Linked DNA regions of Homo sapiens: region 1 is linked to region 2. The links are contacts of gene promoters, found by promoter capture Hi-C in blood cells and fetal thymus (Javierre and others, 2016). All regions are on one chromosome and are shown on one strand. The core of a region is centred on a gene start or on the middle of the fragment in contact, and the rest is flanking DNA. Distances in the headings are between cores, read along the strand shown.

The links. Contacts are between HindIII fragments. The CHiCAGO score rates a contact against its expected background, and 5 or more counts as called.
Region 1: a contact is called between the fragment with the promoter of DNAJC28 here and the fragment with the promoter of IL10RB in region 2, in 11 of 17 cell types (total B cells, M0 macrophages, neutrophils and 8 more). The highest score is 12.4, in total B cells.

Annotation. Positions count from the first base shown.
Region 1 is chr21:33,490,394-33,493,093 of GRCh38, forward strand. It overlaps DNAJC28 (DnaJ heat shock protein family (Hsp40) member C28), which reads right to left and starts at 1,323. Exons shown (of 2, transcript NM_001040192.3): 1 at 1,209-1,323. The HindIII fragment of the contact is 6,958 bases long and covers 1-2,700 here.
Region 2 is chr21:33,265,114-33,267,813 of GRCh38, forward strand. It overlaps IL10RB (interleukin 10 receptor subunit beta), which reads left to right and starts at 1,254. Exons shown (of 7, transcript NM_000628.5): 1 at 1,254-1,401. The coding sequence starts at 1,353. The region is part of intron 7 of IFNAR2-IL10RB (IFNAR2-IL10RB readthrough); the gene reads left to right. IFNAR2 (interferon alpha and beta receptor subunit 2) reads left to right here. Exons shown (of 9, transcript NM_001289125.3): 9 at 1-551. It overlaps IL10RB-DT (IL10RB divergent transcript), which reads right to left and starts at 1,147. Exons shown (of 2, transcript NR_038974.1): 1 at 950-1,147; 2 at 519-789. RefSeq lists enhancers at 770-829, 860-929 and a silencer at 1,100-1,509. The HindIII fragment of the contact is 8,663 bases long and covers 1,111-2,700 here.

The DNA of each region.
Region 1 (2,700 bases), core at 73-2,572, 230 kb after region 2:
ACCGCACCCAGCCCCACCAGCTGCATTCTTATAGCTATATTTCACTGATGTGGGCAGAAAAGTGGAAGCTGATGAAGTTTAGTGTTAACATATTGTGGGGCCAGGCACGGTGGCACACGCCTGTAATCCCAGTACTTTAGGAGGCCGAGGTGGGTGGATCACCTGAGGTCAGGAGTTCGAGATCAGCCTGGCTAACATGGCAAAACCCTGTCTCTACTAAAAATACAAAAATTAACTGGAGGTTGCAGTCCCAGCTACTCGGGAGGCTGAGGCAAGAGAATCGCTTGAACCCGGGAGGTGGAGGTTGCAGTGAACCGAGATCGTGCCACTGCACTCCAGCCTGGGCAACAGAGTGAGACTCTGTCTCAAAAAAATATAGATAGATAGAATCTGGATTCTACCCCTCACTAACTAACCGTATATTTTACAAGTGGAAAGTTCTTAGAGATCATCTAATCCAATCTTCTCATTTAATGAGAAAACGTAGGTCCGGAAGGTTAAGCAATTTAACCAAGTCCCATAACAAGGTGTAAGCAAAATGGTTAGGGGTGGGCACAGTAAAAAAGGAGGCTTGCTTAACTGTCTATACCTCCAGCCGATTATAAACTGCACGAGAGTCTGCATCATCTCAAGAAGTCTTCTCATAAGACGACTTATGGACAAGGTACGTACCTGGTCTGATACTGGATTGAATAGAATCAAGTGTCCAAAAGACTTTAAGCTCCACAGCTCGCTAGGAAGGAGCTATCTGCCAGAGGCCAGAAAAACCATGATGAATTGTGAGGCCTCCCAACACGTTTGCTGCTATTGCAATAACATGGTCTCGAAGAGGAGGAAGACTTGTACACTGACAATGGCCAAAAAATACTGGAAGTGGCTTAATTGGAATTGGGATATATAAACGCTAAAACGGAGCTCCTGAGACCCCCTATTTTCTAGGCAATCGGTGCCAACGGTCTGGGAGCCGGCTGCGAAGGTGGTTATCATGGCAAGGGAGGTCGGTCCTGCCCCGCCCCCTCCTCACCTGCGCAGACCTGGGGTAGGGGTTCCGCGGCTCCCGCCCCCCTGCCGCGCCTCTGCGCATGCGTGCGCGGTCCGCCCTTCACTGCGGGTGTCCCTCCCACCGCCTCCAGCTGGTGCCTCCGCCGGGCTAGACCATTTGCCACTTTACACTGAGGGGCTCGGGGGTACGGAAGGCAGAATCGTACCTGATTGGGACAGGTGACCTTACCAGGAAAACGGACAATCTTCCGCCAAACGAACTTTACCCCGGAGGACCCAGGCAGGGCACCTCGGGAGCCTTCGTCCCGACCGGGGACCACCAGCTCCACCTCCGTCCCCGCCCCGAGCGGAGGTGGTCCGGCCGATTGGGATTGTGGGAGATGTAGTTCGCTAGAAGGGGCGATGTGCGCCTGCGCCTCTCGGGAGGGACTTAGGGGGCGTCGAAAATGATGTAAAGACCGAGTTGGCGGCGTGGGGAGTTGTGGCTCGGAGGGCGAGGGTAACTTTCTGGGGGCAGGGGAAGGCAAGGCTGTTTCCCCGGAACGGGACCGGAACAGGTTTATTCGGGGTCACAGAAGGAGTCACCTGCGCAGATACATGAGGCTTAAAACCTGCCCTTTTATTAATTCAAGTACTGTTGAGGGGCTGGCGACAGGCCAGAGGACAAAATCAAAATAGGGATCTTCTGGCTTGGAGTTCAACCACTGACGTGGGGACTGAGCATTTCCCCTCTCTGTACAGGAAGCAAGTTTTTTAACAAGGAAAAAGAAAAAGGATAAAAAGAAAAAGGCAGAGGCTTGGGAGTTTTCAGATCTGGGTTGAAAATCCTGTTTCTTCTGCTTGCACCTTAGGCAAGATACCTGCAAAATGAGAGTTGCAATAAATAGTAAACTATAGTAAATAGTATGCCATTGTGCTAAGTGCTTTATGTATATTCTCATTTACTTTTTTTTTTTTTTTTTTGAGACAGAGTCTCGCTCTGTCGCCCAGGCTGGAGTGTGGTGGCGCGATCTCGGCTCGCTGCAACCTCCACCTCCCGGGTTTAAGCTATTCTCCTGCCTCAGCCTCCCGAGTAGCTGGAATTACAGGCGCGCACCACCATGCCCAGCTAATTTTTTTGTATTTTTAGTGGAGACCAGGTTTCACCATGTTGGCCAGGCTGGTCTCGAACCCCTGAGCTAAGGTGATCTGCCTGCCTCGGCCTTTCAAAGTGCTGGGATTACAGGCATTCATTTAATCTTTACAACAGCCCTCTGAGATAAATGCTGTTATTTTCCCTATTTTACATATAATGAAATAATAATTGTATCAACTTCATTGACTTTTTTAGGGGGAGAATTACACAATGTATGTAAACCACTTGGCACTGTGCCTCGCACATTAAGCAATATTTTTTGTTATGACTGTGTCTCCTAAAAGGAGCCAGAAATAGGTATTAGCCTCCTCAGCTTCTACATCATAAACATTAGAATCATTTATTGCCATCTATGTAGGAACACAGAAAAAGATACAGTATAAACTCTGATTCTGAGGGCTTTAGTTATAAGCAAACAATCAACAAAATAACTCATGTGAAAGAAAATAGGATTTCTGGCCGGGCGCGGTGCTCACGCCTGTAATCCCAGCACTTTGGGAGGCCGAGGCGGGCGGATCACGAGGTCAGGAGATCGAGACCATCCTGGCTAACACGGTGAAACC
Region 2 (2,700 bases), core at 4-2,503:
CTGAGCCTCAGGTTTTTTGTTTCTGAAGTAAAAGGATTGGACTAGGTAATCTCCAAGATCCTAGGAACCCAGGAGAAAGATGAGAAAATGTACAAGAATGAACACTCAGGTGGAAATGCTGCAATCCTGAGAAGCTCCCAGGATGAATGAAAGGCACAGGACCTCTTACCCCTCACCCCTGCCCCCCTCAAGAGCTGGTTTCTCAAACCTTTCTCTTAGGCCCCTTCAAAGGGGGAAAACTAAAAATTATACAAGTTATAGTTCAAGGACTTTAAATAGATTATTTATATGATTGCTCATAAGGATGAGGCTGTGAGGAGGGAACACCTTATTTAATCTAATGAAATTCCATAGGAAAGAGGCCTTTTGTATATTGAATCAATTTATCTGCCTTCTCAGTGCATCTGTCATATTCTGAAAGATTCTGGGTTGATCTTTTGCGATAACCTCTATGGCTGTGAGTGTGTGTGTGTGTTTGTGTATTTTTTAACATTTTGTATAATGATTGGAGGTTGGTAAAAAGTAACACAACAGTACTTTTTTAATACAAACTTGGTGTGGTCTTGAGTTGTCTTCCATTGGAGAGCGTACGTGTGCCACAGATTGGTGCACCTGCCGGCATCTCTAGGATTGCACCAACTCCCTCTAGCTCTTCTTGGTGGCCTGCAGGGGCCTAGGGCGCATTCACTTCCCTCTGCTTGACTTTACGTGGTGTTCTAGCGTCAGACATCAGGCGATGCCGTGCATTACCCAAGACACTGGACAGCTCCGGATCTTCCCGTCTAACCACTAATCAAGTTAAAAAGAGGAAATTAACGCTTTCTTAGTAGTCTCTGAAAGAAACTAGTTATTTGCGTAAAGATGACTTGGTTTTGTGTTGTTTATCCCTGGGGAGAAGGGTAAAGAAGACCCTCAAACTGGATTTGCTGCTGAAGTGCTTTTAACTCACCTGTGCGGAGAGCGGACTTCAAGAGAGGGCGTGCCGGTGCTCCGGACAAAACCTGGGGAATACTGAAAGCCACCACCACCACCGTCATTCCAGCATGCAGATCTCAGTCCTGGGTTGGTGTTGTAGGGCATTTATTTATTTGACTTGACGGCGCCTTTCAAAGCTTGCGAGGATCCCTTCCTCTTCCTCGTGTGCATCTGCCAAGCCTGTGCCCCGCGCCTCGCGGGTGGACCCGGGCTGGTGGGCGGGGCCTGCAGCGGGGTGGGAGCCCGGTCGCCCGGCCCCTCCCCACCCCGCCCCGCCCATCTCCGCTGGTTCCCGGAAGCCGCCGCGGACAAGCTCTCCCGGGCGCGGGCGGGGGTCGTGTGCTTGGAGGAAGCCGCGGAACCCCCAGCGTCCGTCCATGGCGTGGAGCCTTGGGAGCTGGCTGGGTGGCTGCCTGCTGGTGTCAGGTGAGGGGTCCGCGGGGAGGGGGCGCGCTTGGGAACCGGGAGGCCCCGCGAGATGCCGCCCCTGATCCCATCCCTGGGCGCCCTGCAAGTGACTTAAGAGCCTTCGGGGCCTCGGGAGAGAAGATGCAAACGCCACGGCCGGCTGCTGAGACGCAACTAGGCTGCTGCTGCCGTCGATTCTGTAACAGGAGAAAGCCCCATCCGCGCCCGGATTACAGACCGTCTGGGCCCTAAACTCAGGGGGAGACTCCCGGCGTCTTTTGATTCCCTGTCCTCCTGCAGCTCTCTGCTGGCGGGCGTCTAAATAAAGTAGCTTCCCCAAAAGACCCAAGATCCCACCGTGGCTGTCATCTGACCCTTCTGGAGACTATCAGTTCAAGTGGAGGCCCCCACCAGTCCCCGAGTGCCCTGACAGCCCTCCCTGACCCCAAGTCTGCCCCCTCAGTGCCAGCCCTCCCTACAGATGTGCCTCCCATCACCCGCTGCACCTCCCCTCCTTCCGGTTCAGGCCCGAGCACCCTGAAATCTGGATTCTGTCCCCCAGCGCCCCAGCTCCATGGCTTCTAAACCTAAATCCATTGAAACCTTTTCTGTCCTCTAAATTGACTGCCTAGGTTCCAATAACACCATGGTCACCTCCTTCCTTTCTCATGAACTCTTCCCTGGCCTTCCGGGATACCCCTCCGGTTTCCCGCCCTGTCAGGCTGTCTCTGCTTGGGACCCTCCTGCTCTGTCAGGTTTCTATGTAGCTAATTGTGATGCCCAAGGCCTTTTCTCTCCTTCCCTGGCACTGTTCCTTTGGGGGATTTCAGCCAAACCCTGGCATTAAACACGGGCTATAGGCCCATGACTCGCACATTTATATCTCTCTTGGTACCAGTTGGGTGATGGGTGGTGGTTTATTATAGTCTTCTACTTTTCTACTTGCATGTAGGTTTCAAATTTTCTTTTCTTTCTTTCTTCTTCCGTTTTTTTTTTTGTTTGTTTGTTTTTTTGTTTTTTTGTTTTTTTTTGAGACAGGGTTTTGCTCTGTTGCTGTGGCCCAGGCTGGAGTGCAGTGGCTTGATCTTGCCTCACTGCCACCTCCGCCTCCCGGGTTCAAGCGATTTTCCTCCCTCAGCCTCCCGAGTAGCTGGAATTACAGGTGTGTGCCACTACGCCTGGCTAATTTTTGTATTTTTATTGGAGATGGGGTTTCGCCATGTTGGCCAGGCTGGTCTCGAACTCCTGACCTCAGGTGATTCACCTTCCTCAGCCTCCCAAAGAGCTGGGATTACAGGCGCGAGCCACCATGCCTGG